Linked DNA regions of Homo sapiens: region 1 is linked to region 2. Evidence: promoter capture Hi-C in 16 types of primary human blood cells and fetal thymus (Javierre and others, 2016). All regions are on one chromosome and are shown on one strand. Each heading gives the region's core, a stretch centred on a gene start or on the middle of the fragment in contact. The rest is flanking DNA. Distances are from core to core; before and after follow the strand shown.

Region 1 (6,204 bases), core at 1,870-4,369, 330 kb before region 2:
TTTTTTTTAATTAGCCAGGCATGAGAAGGATTGCTTGAACCCAGGAAGTTGAAGCTGCAGTGAGCTATGATCACGCCACTGCACTCCAGCCTTCCACCAGCCTGGGTGACAGAGGGAGAGAAGACCCTGTCTATTTAAAAAAAGAAGAAGAAAGAAGAAAGAAGAAGGAGAAGAAGAAAGAAAAGAAATGTAGTCTCTCTGGCCCCACCCTAGGTGTAATGAATCATTTTCTGCTTTTTTTTTTTTTTTGAGATGAGGTCTCACTCTGTCACCCAGGTTGGAGTGCAGTGGCATGACCTCGGCTCACTACAATCTCCACCTCCTGGGCTCAAGTGATCCTCCCGCCTCAGCCTTCCAAGTAGTTGGGACTACAGGTGCACGCCACCATGCTTGGTTAACTTTTTTTGTGTTTTTGGTAGAGACGGGGTTTCACCATGTTGCCCAGGCTGGTCTTGAACTCCTAGGCTCAGGATACCCACCCGCGTCGGCCTCCCAAAGCGTTGGGATTACAGGTGTGAGCCACTGGGCCAGGCCCACTTTCTGCATTTTGACAGGAGCCTTCAAGCATTAAAGTTTGAGAAGCACTGGTCGAGGATCTATCTCCTTTCTCACCTGTCTGGCGGTCAGCAGGCTTGTTTGTCTGGGGGGTGGGGGGCCTCAGCTGGGAGGGCTTATTTTCTGAGCCATGTTGCTAACCCAGGCTTCTTCACGAGCCGATCTCAGGGTTCCAAAGAGCAGGATGAGGGCAATTCCCACAGCAGGAGTATTTTTCAAACCTTTGCTGTGTCATGTTTGCTACTGTCCCACAGGCCAATGCAAGCCACATGGTCATCCCAGAGTCAGTATGGGAAGGCATTGCCCAAAGGCAAAACAGAGGAGGGGAATACTTTGTGGTTATTTAAAAAACCTATCACACTTTCCACTATCAGAGTTGAGGCTTTTGGAGCGGAGGGCGGGGGGTGGGGGGAAGCGGGAAACACCAGCAACTATTTGCATTCTGCCCAGCCACACCTCTCCCCTCACACCAGCACAGAGCCACCTACTTGCTTAAAAGATGAGAGGAGGCCAGGCACAGTAGCTCAGGCCTGTAATCCCAGCACAAGGCCGAAGTGGGAGGATCACTTGAGCCCACGAGTTCAAGACCAGCCTGGGCAACATACAGACCCCGGTCTCTACAAAAAACAAACAAACAAACAAAATTAGCTGGGTGTGGTCCACATGCCTGTGGTCTCAGCTGCTTGGGAGGCTGAGGTAGGAAGATCGCTTGGGCTTGAGAGGTTGAGGCTGCAGTGAGTGGTGATAGTGCCACCGCACTCCAGCCTGGGTGACAGAGCCAGACCCTGTCTCAAAGCTTTTTAAAAAAGCCAGAGAGGAGGGAAAAGTGAAAACAGAAGGGAAAGTTGTAGATTAATATTGCAAAATCATATCCTTGCTATAAACGAGATGTGTACAGAGGTCAATGCATATATGAGTTTGGTAGTGGAAAAGTGAGAGATCGTCTAACATGGTTTCTTTATGAAGTAGGCAGTAAGGTCATGTGCTGAGAAGAGGTGGGTGGGGGAAGAGGGGTATCAGAAGTCTGAGGAGACTAGAGAAGGTTTGAAATCATCATAATGGAACTGGAGACTGGGAAGTGACATGAAGAACCTAAGATTTCAGCAACCATTTCAGGTTGATGATTATGAGGTTATCTTGATGCTGATCTGTTCTGTGGGCTCCCAAAGTGCTGAGATTACAGGCGTGAGCCACTGTGCCTGGCTCACACCTGTGGAGAAATGTTTCGCAGTGGTGTTTGCAGGCACAGAGAAAGCCAAAAGCAGGGTTTGGGGGATTTTGCTAGATGAGTAATGAAAAGGCAGAGGGCACGTGAGTTTAGCTTATTGGAGGGAGTGTTATTAAAATAATGGTATGGCATCTTTCAGCTGAATATGAAAAATTGAGAAGAAAGTGGGGGTGGTGGTCAAAAAGTGGAGGTTGGAGAATAGGGAAGATTTGAACAACTGGCTGGAAGAAGAGGGGAATTGTGGAAAGAAAACGAAATGCTTGAGTCAGTGGTTTCACAGGTGGAGTAGCTTCCGTGATGAAAAAGACCAGTGGAGAGCATTGCATATGTTCTCACTCTTCCAATTTGAACACCTTCCCCTGGTGGAGATAAGTAGATATGCTTTCTATGTTTTATTAACTTTACAACACCTTCCCCAAGCTGGTGAAAGGAAGCTCTCACTTCCTTATTCATTAGCCTGATGAAACAGAGCAAAATGTATCTTTTTTGGTTCTGTTTTGAATTTTAGTAACTCTAGTCTTCATCTGCCTGTTGGACTTCCTGTCTCTTTTTCATCTATCTTTGGGTACACATTTCTTCTTACGGGTCCTTTTAAACACCGAGCTCCTGAGAAAGGTCACCATTCTACCACTTTGATTCTGTAAATGTCTTTTGCTCATAGGTGTCAGAATAGGCTGGGTTATACTGTGGTAACAACCCCCAAATCTCGCAATCCCAGGAGGTACATGGGTACTAAGAATTATTCACATTTTACAAATGACCAAACTGGGCCCCAGAGTATTGGTAAAATGTGCAGAGCCCATCAGCTGGTGAAACCCTAAGGAACACAACACTTAGAATTTCACAAAGGCTAGACTTTATGAAATGTGCTGCGTGGATGCAGTAGTATCTCCAACCCCCCTGGACCGCTCTGCCACGTACAATCTTCTATCTTTCAGTCCGGAACTCAGTAACACCCACTCCAGGGCTGATGGGGGCGCTGGATGTATAGTGGCGAGTGTTTATCTGCCTAGGATAGCGATGGCTAGGCAGGGGACATAAAACAGAAGAGGCAGTGACCTTCTCCGGGTGGGGTCTATGGCCCTTTACTGGGTACATTCTGTACACACAGGCCCCTCCTTTGCCTGAAGTCATTGATGAAGACTTCATTACGGAGGGTTTGGGGAAAGGTGGGGGTCTGGCTGGGTAAGCCGGCGTCCCAGCCCCGCTACAGCCCCGCCCAGATCTGGCAGAGCCGTGGGCGAACCCAGGCGGGCAGAAAGGCGGGGCGGGCGGCTGCCAAGCCGGCCAATAGGCGGCTCTCCGGCTGCTAAGCCGAGAGGGCAGGGGCGCCGTCAGTAGCACCACCGCCTTCCAAGTTTCCCCTTGTGGATGCGCGGCCCCGCGGCTCTGCTCCTCCCGGCGCAGAGGGGCCGGGAGAGGCCACAGGAGCGGACCTGGCACGGGATTTCTGAGGAACGGGAGAAGACTGGCGCCCGACCCGCTCTGGAGGGTCGGTGAACGATGAAGGGCCGGCGGCGGCGACGCCGAGAGTACTGCAAGTTCGCGCTGCTGTTGGTGCTGTACACGCTGGTGCTGTTGCTCGTCCCCTCCGTATTGGACGGCGGCCGCGACGGGGACAAGGGCGCCGAGCACTGCCCCGGCCTGCAGCGCAGCCTGGGAGTGTGGAGCCTGGAGGCGGCGGCGGCCGGCGAACGCGAGCAGGGAGCGGAGGCGCGGGCCGCCGAGGAAGGGGGCGCGAACCAGTCTCCTCGGTTCCCAAGCAACCTCAGCGGCGCTGTCGGGGAGGCAGTGTCTCGCGAGAAGCAGCACATCTACGTGCATGCCACCTGGCGCACCGGCTCGTCCTTCCTGGGCGAACTCTTTAACCAGCACCCGGACGTTTTCTACTTGTATGAGCCCATGTGGCATCTATGGCAGGCGCTGTATCCGGGCGACGCCGAGAGCTTGCAGGGCGCGCTGCGCGACATGCTGCGTTCGCTCTTCCGCTGCGACTTCTCCGTGCTGCGGCTGTACGCGCCGCCGGGGGACCCCGCTGCGCGCGCCCCGGACACGGCCAATCTTACCACGGCCGCCCTCTTCCGCTGGCGGACTAACAAGGTCATCTGCTCGCCGCCACTGTGTCCTGGCGCACCCCGTGCCCGGGCCGAGGTGGGCCTCGTCGAGGACACCGCCTGCGAGCGCAGCTGCCCACCCGTGGCGATACGCGCCCTGGAGGCCGAGTGCCGAAAGTACCCGGTGGTGGTCATCAAGGACGTGCGCCTGCTCGATCTGGGCGTGCTGGTGCCCCTGTTGCGTGATCCAGGCCTCAACCTGAAGGTGGTGCAGCTTTTCCGCGACCCGAGGGCGGTGCACAACTCGCGCCTCAAGTCTAGGCAGGGACTGCTGCGCGAGAGCATCCAGGTGCTGCGCACCCGCCAGAGGGGCGACCGCTTCCACCGTGTGCTGCTGGCGCACGGCGTGGGTGCTCGCCCCGGGGGCCAGTCTCGCGCGCTGCCCGCCGCGCCGCGCGCCGATTTCTTCCTGACCGGTGCGCTCGAGGTGATCTGCGAAGCCTGGCTGCGCGATCTGCTTTTCGCGCGCGGCGCGCCCGCCTGGCTGCGGCGCCGCTACCTGAGGCTGCGCTATGAGGACCTGGTGCGGCAGCCACGCGCCCAGCTGCGCCGCCTGCTGCGCTTCTCCGGGCTACGCGCGCTCGCAGCGCTCGATGCCTTCGCGCTCAACATGACTCGCGGCGCGGCCTACGGCGCCGACCGGCCCTTCCACCTGTCAGCGCGCGACGCCCGGGAGGCGGTGCACGCCTGGCGCGAGCGCCTGAGCCGAGAGCAGGTGCGCCAGGTGGAGGCCGCCTGCGCTCCAGCCATGCGTCTGCTCGCCTACCCTCGCAGCGGAGAGGAGGGCGACGCGGAGCAGCCCAGGGAAGGGGAGACGCCGCTGGAGATGGATGCCGACGGCGCCACGTAGCCTCCCATCCCTGTCCCCGGCACGGATCCGGGTAAGGTGGCCCGGGGCAAGGCAGGGACCGGGACTGGTCTTCCGGGAGCCTGGAATGGCCTGGGGAGGGGGAAGTGTAGGGGGGAGGGTACCATGCTGGATCCCATTCTATCAGATCAGGTCCAAGAGGATGGGAAAGTCCTGCTCGTAGAATTTGGTAGATTCATCGGAATCTCCAGCTTAGCCTCGCGCCTCCTTAGAGGGAGATCCTGAGATGAGAGAGGATATTTAGGCGTGACTGAGGTGGAAGCCAGGTCTCTGCATTCCCATTCCCCTGTATGAAGTAGGAGGTTTCAGAGGGCTGAGGAGAGTAGAGAAGGTTTGAAACAGTCATAATGAGCCGTGAGACTGGGAATTGACATGTGGAGTATAGGATTTCGGAAACCATTTGAGGTTGATGATTATGGAGTTATCTTGATGCCAGTTTGTCCTGTGAGGAGACTTTGCAATGGTGTTTACAGGCACAGAGAAAGCCAAAAGCAGAGAGTTTGGTGGAAAGGCATTGATTCTAACCCTACCTATCCCTAATCTTTCTGTTTCATGTTTCTTCTCTGTCTGTTTTATGCGCAGGCTCCAGGGCTTTTCTCCTGAATTTCCAAACATGCAGGCACAGTCCAGCGGCTCTTGCAACACTTCTTGCACATTGTGTGTCTCAGGCGCTTGTGTAGTGAATAGACTTGCTTTCCCCTGGCTCATGTGCGCCTCTCTGTCTCCCCTCCCCCTCCTTCCCTCTCTCATTTCCCCTCTCCCTCTCTTCCTCTTCCTCCCCCTTCCCCTCCTCCTCTCCCTTCCCCCTTCTCCCTGTAGCTGGCGTTTGCAGGATATTTGACCATATCCCATTCACATCAGGTCACAAAAGCTGCCTGGTCAGCTTCCTCTAGTGTCGACAAGACCTCAGGGTTGGGTGTCCCCCACTCCACCCCATCCGTTTGACAGATGGAGCCTTCAATTGGCAGTAGCAGTTTGTGACTGCAGGAGGAGCTTTGTGAAAAGACACTGCCCCCTCTTTTTTGTTTTTCCATTTTTGTTTTTTGTTTTTTTCTGTATATCTGAAGATGCTAAAGTGGGGCTTAAACAGTCTCAAAATGTGTTCTGTGTGGGTCAGTGTATGGCCTGAGGGAAGGGTTTGTTCTGCACAGTGCTGACCATAGGAGTCTACTTAGTGACATGGGAGTGTGTTTCCCCAAACTTTATGTGAGTTGGAAGGGTGCCGCCTTCTGCACTGTGCAGTCAGTCCAGAGGAGGAGGAAAAGTAGTGCTGGGTGGGCGGAAGTGAGTTAAGTTTCCATTCATTATTTTATAGTGTAATTCAGCATTCCCCTGAGATGAAGCTCTGAGGACAAACGTTGAAGATATTAATGAAGAGGGATTTTGTTGTTGTTACAGAACCAGGGTTTCAGAGTGATTTCAGAAGCTGGCTAACTAAT
Region 2 (5,878 bases), core at 2,650-5,149:
TATTTTGAGCATTCTATAAGTAAAAGCACCAGCCCTAGTGTTAGTTCTCCTTCCCCTTAATCATATAAAACATTGAAGTATTACTTCTCTTATGTCTTATTTTTTCCAAAATGACACAAAACCCACTGTGGACAACACCAAGACTTCTATATCTGCCCCATCTTGGCCTTAGGCAGCCAAATACTGCCTGAGGCAGAAGCTGGTAGGATGAATGCAAATATGAATATGTTCGAGGAGGTTCTAGTACATTAATACCACTAAATCAGTAACTTATTGAAATGAGCTGAACACTGTAGGATGGGGGTAGGAGGGTGAAGAGAACCGTTAGCAGGTTACCAAAAAAGGAATAACATGCTGGTTCTCATGTAACACAAAGGCTTGAGGGAGGCAACCCACAGTGGGTTAGAAAGTGGGTTAGTGGGATAGAAAGGTCCTGGGCTCTGTCTTCCTTCCTGGCCATCCTAATCATGTAGTTTTTTCTATTTGCTGGTAAGATAGCTCTCATACCTGGTTCTCATGTAACACAAAGGCTTGAGGGAGGCAACCCACAGTGGGTTAGAAAGTGGGTTAGTGCGATAGAAAGGTCCTGGGCTCTTTCTGTCTTCCTTCCTGGCCATCCTAATCATGTAGTTTTTTCTATTTGCTGGTAAGATAGCTCTCATACCTCTTAAGTATTGTGACTGCATTCTAGGCAGAAAGAATAAAGAGAGTGGCAAAAGGCCAGCTAAGTCTGTCCCCTTTCATCAGGAAAACAATAACTTTCCCAGAAGCCTCATGCAGTAGACTTCTGCTTAGATCTCATTTGCCAGAGCTGGATCACATGTCCATTCTGGCTTCAAGGGAGTCTGAGGAATTATTTTTACTAGGCACATTGTTTTGCTGAAAAATTGAAGTTCTGAAAGTAAAGGTGAAAAGAGTGGCTATTGGGTAAGCAACTATCAGTATTTGCCACACGAAGCATGCATTATCTGTTTAGTTTAAAATACACCATAGGGTCCTTTCCGCTCGGAGACCTCTCTTTCTATAGACAGAGAGCTGTTTCTCTTTCTCTTGTCTTCTGCCTATTAAACCTCCACTCCTAAACTCCTTGTGTGTGTCCGTGTCCTAAATTTTCCTGTCGCGTGACAATGAACCCCAGGGTATATACCCCAGACAACGTAGTCACTTCATAATGGGGACCTCATCCGAGATACCAAGGTGCAACATTCACCGAAACGATGAATAGATGAGGGGACTCCAACTCTGTCCTTTCATTTCGAGGCTCTTGGCTTCCATTTTAGAACCAAATCAAACCAAATACTGGGCCCCCTTCAGCCATTTAAAAACGATTAGTGTGGCTGCCAGCCTTAAAAGACTTGGGGGACAGGCTTACTAGGGAGAACATGGAGAATCTCCCGGCACCCATGGGTTGCTGGGCATATTGGCCATGTTTGAACCAGCTTCCTTTCACGGAAGACTTAGCCATCAGGTGGGGCTGGAAGAAGTCCTGAGGCAGCTGAGGATTTCTGACCAGGGCTAGCTCCCAGTGTTATCCAAAGGCTTCTGGACTGGCCCCAGCCTCCAATTGCCTCGATGGGGTGTCGGCAACAGGATCTCCAACTTTCCTTTTGTAATTTCCTCCTTTCCTGTCTGCGACCGCCATATCTCTTATCCTCTCTGTATGCAATGTGTGGGAAGCTTTACAGTTCAGGGAAGTAATCTTGTTTGGCAAGACCAGGGAATGTCATAGTCCATGTAAACGTCATACCTGATCAAACCAATCTGTGAGCCCCATGTAAATCAGACACCCCTCCTCAAACCTGACTATAAAATCTGGCACATGGGCCGCCTGCTGGTCCTTTCTGTTCGGAGACCCCTCTCTCTATATATAGAGAGAGCTGTTTCTCTTTCTCTTCTCTTCTGCCTATTAAACCTCTGCTCCTAAACAAAACAAAACAAAACAAAAACAAACAAAAAAAGAAACACTATAGATAGGTGGGAGGAACTCTTCAACTGGCTCAAACTCCAATGCCCTAAGCTGGGGAGCATCCCCCTCCACCACCACCACCACGTGTGGATACCCCCTTATCCTGTTTGAGCTTTGATGTTTGATGCCCGCACAAGGTCACTTTAGGAGGATTCTCTCTAAGTACTCCTTGGTCTCTGATACCCCATACCTGACTATCTCCACTGGACAAAATAGGTTCTTGAGTCAAGCACTAAGTAAGGAATATGAAGATTTCATAATTTGTGTGCAGTTTCAGATAAATTCTTTCCAAAGTTAGGAGAAGTAAGAATAAAATATGTAACTGGAATCAGTTGCTACCTAAAGATGTCTTTTTTTAAACCTCACCATGGTACCTGGGGTTAGAAGCAATGCTTTGTTTACTCTTTTTAAAAAGCAACAGAATGGGAATATTGTAGTAAATCTCTGGGGGAATTCCTGTCTTCACACCAAAAATAGTTGTTATTCTCTTAGTTGGTTTGGTTTTATCTCATGGACATTTTGAAGTATATATTTTTTCTTATTTTTTTCCAATTTTTGAGCCACATACATTTTATAGACTACTATTCATTTTTAATCTGTTTCCTTTTTTCTTTTTCACTTTCTCCTTTTCTCTCCTACTCTTTTTTATTTTCCTTCTTTACTTTCTCTTTTTTCCTGCCAATTTTAGTTTTTATCTTTGTGCTGTATTTAATTGTATCATCACAGGCCACATTAAATCATTTCTGGAAGATCAGTTTTAAATAAATAGATGAATAAAAAAATAGCAGTTAAAAAAAGGGAGAGAAAAGATTTAAGAACATTTCTAAAAGTAACCCCAAAATTTCTTCAGGGGGATAAAAAGTGGGATGATTTGGGAGGTCGAGGTGAGAGGATTAGCTGAGACCAGGAGTTTGAGACCAGCTTGGACAAGACGGCAAGATCCTGTCTCTACAAAAAAAAAAAAAAAAAAAAAAAAATTTAATTAGCTGGGCATAATGGCATGTACCTATAGTCCTAGCTACTTGGGAGGCTGAGGCAGGAAGATCACTTGAGCCCAGGAGTTCAAGGTTACAGTAAGCTATGATCACACCACTGCACTCCAGCCTAGGCGACCCTGTCTCAAAAACAAAAATGAAACAGTGGAATGAAATCATTTGGGTAATGTCTCCCAGACAAGTAAAGTATTCCCAAGAAATTTCTGAAGGAATTAAGGAAAATTATTGATGTTATGATTAAAAAACAAACAAACAAACTGGTTCTACTATAGAATAATAGACATTGGCAACTCAGAAGGATGGGAGGGTGGTGAGGAATAAGAAATTACTTAATGGGTACAATGTATATTATTCAGGTGATGGTTATGCTAAAAGCCTGGACGTTACAACTATGCATTATATCCACGTAACAAAACTGCACTTTTACCCCTTAAATGTACACAAATTTTTTGAAAACTGGTTCTTGCACCTCAACAGACACATAGGATTTATGAATGGACTTGGATAGAGCATAGAGGAAGGCCTGGAGCAGTTTTCATGGGCTTTTGTCTCCTATGGCCCTGGTGCGTCTATCTTCAGGAAGCTAAATACAGAGGCTTCTGAGAATTCACTTAGATGATGGTTCCCAAGAGGAACAACTCTCTCCTAAGCCACACATGGGGCAGTTTACTTCTAATATGGAAAATTATGGGTCGGGCATGGTGGCTCATGCTTGTAATCCCAGTACTTTGGGAGGCCAAGGCGGGCAGATCACTTGAGGTCAGGAGTTCAAGACCAGCCTGGCCAACATGGCAAAACCCTGTCTCTACAAAAATTAGCCAGGCATGGTGGCGTGCACCTGGGAGGCTGAGGCAGGAGAATTGCTTGAATCCAGGAGGCAGAGGTTGCAGTGAGCTGAGATCGCACCACCGCACTCTAGTCTGGGCGACAGAGCAAGACTTCATCTAAAAAAAAGAAAGAAAAGAAAGAAAGAAAATTATGGATAGTCTCTGAAGCTGAGCATTCTCTGGAGTCAGACACTTTCTTAATCCCTTTTGAAATTTCTGATGGAGAAAAATCCAATCCAAAGAAAGAATATGAAATCCAGGGAAAATTAGTTTTTTTTTCTTAAGTGCATATAAGTTATGGATTTATATATAAAATAAAGATAGTGATTGTATCAGTCAGGATTCTAACAGAGAAACAGAACCATTAGGAGACACATGTAGATATAGATATAGATATAGGTATAGATATAGATGAACTGGCTTATGTGATTGTGGTGGCTAGCTAGGCAAGCCTGAAATCTGAAATCCTTAGAGCAGGCCATCAGAAAGGACAGGCAGGAGTTCTCGAGCACAAGCCAATGCTGCTGTCTATGGGCAGAATTTCTTCTTCAGGAAAGCCTCCATTCTGCTATTAAGGCCTTTAACTGATTGATTCAGGCCCACCAGATTATCTAGGATAATCTTGTTTACATAAAGTCAACTGATTATAGACTTGATTCACATCTACAAAATACCTCTCAGCACCACCTAGATTAGATTTTAATGGAATAACTGGCTTATGTTAGCCAGTTATAAACTAGGGACTATAGCCTAGCTATGTTAACACATAAAACTGACCATTACAGGCCAGGTGCACAGTGGCTCATGCCTATAACCCCAGCACTTTGGGAGGCTGAAGCGGGCGGGTCACTTGAGACCAGGAGTTCGAGACCAGCCTGGCCTCAAGGCTGGTGAAACCTCGTCTCTACTAATAATACAAAAATTAGCCAGACGTGGTGGTGAGTGCCTGTAATCCCAGCTACTTGAGAGGCTGAGGCAGGAGAATCACTTGAATCCAGCAAGTGGAGGTTGCAGTGAGCCGAGATCACACCACCATACTCCAGCCTAGGCAACAGAGTAAGACTCCGTCTCAAAACAAAACAAAACAAAAAACAAAACTGACCACTACAGTGATGTTTGGTGTTTCATTTTGATTTTAACTTCCATCAGTGAACATTTTGTTCTTTGTGAAAATAAATCACAAGCTAAGATAGGCTTCTATGGAGAGAGTGTCAATATTACGGATCCATGGCATCAGTTGTAACATGTATTTGGTCTATGAAGGTCATTAGCCATCTGGTAAAAGGAAGCTATACTGATTATAACTCACTCATTGGGTGTATGCTATTACCTAATTCCACTAAACTGTTTTCCGTTCATTGATTTAAAAAGTTAGTTATTCAATTCAATTGAAGTTAACACCTGAGAAGGATTTCAAAGAACAGATGTGTATTTCATTTGTAGAAATCATTTTCTCATGTCACAAATGTTTAATGAATCCACTCTCCCTTGAGTTAGAAATGGTAGGTGCTTTGAAATACTTGAACCTACACAAGAGCAGAAAGCATTTTATTTTGAAGTGTGCCTACTGTCCAGTAATAATGTTGGACAAGTTATTTTCTCTCTGAGCCTTAGTTTGCTTACCTGTAAAATGGGAAATAATGATTATTGTCTTGAGGGCTTGGGAAGGATTAGATGAGAAAACATAAGTTAGACACTTGAAACACAGTAGATGTTCCACAAATATTGATTTTTTTTGCCTCCTTCTATGAATACAGACTTCATAAGTGAAGTCCTATGAGTTAAAAGTCCTCTCCAATTTTTTTGCAGATTCTATCTAGCAGCACTATTTTGGATATCACTGTGTAGCGAAGAATCAAGTGAGGTTTCCAGTGCTCATTAATTTATCAAATTGACTATAAAGATTCACTGTAGGTGGCTTTGTATTTACTTATGTGCATAGGGAGACCATTTTTACATGTTATCACTTCAACAATAAATACAGATAAAGTTGCTGGAGTTTACAATTGCTTTTTATTTGAAAAATCAGCAATTTTCCTAATTTTATCTGAAAATGTTCTTCGGAGTCATGGTGGTGAAATTCTGAGCAA

The links. The method cuts DNA at HindIII sites, captures the fragments that hold promoters and counts their contacts. A CHiCAGO score of 5 or more calls a contact.
Region 1: the fragment with the promoter of CHST7 here is called in contact with the fragment with the promoter of LINC01545 in region 2 in 3 of 17 cell types (neutrophils, M0 macrophages and erythroblasts); the score reaches 5.8 in neutrophils.

What each region holds. Positions count from the first base shown.
Region 1 is chrX:46,570,646-46,576,849 of GRCh38, forward strand. It overlaps CHST7 (carbohydrate sulfotransferase 7), which reads left to right and starts at 3,120. Exons shown (of 2, transcript NM_019886.4): 1 at 3,120-4,778. The coding sequence starts at 3,287. The coding sequence ends at 4,747. RefSeq lists silencers at 4,138-4,187, 4,308-4,367. The HindIII fragment of the contact is 5,347 bases long and covers 1,350-6,204 here.
Region 2 is chrX:46,895,805-46,901,682 of GRCh38, forward strand. It overlaps LINC01545 (long intergenic non-protein coding RNA 1545), which reads right to left and starts at 3,900. Exons shown (of 4, transcript NR_046101.1): 1 at 3,800-3,900. The HindIII fragment of the contact is 5,808 bases long and covers 1,676-5,878 here.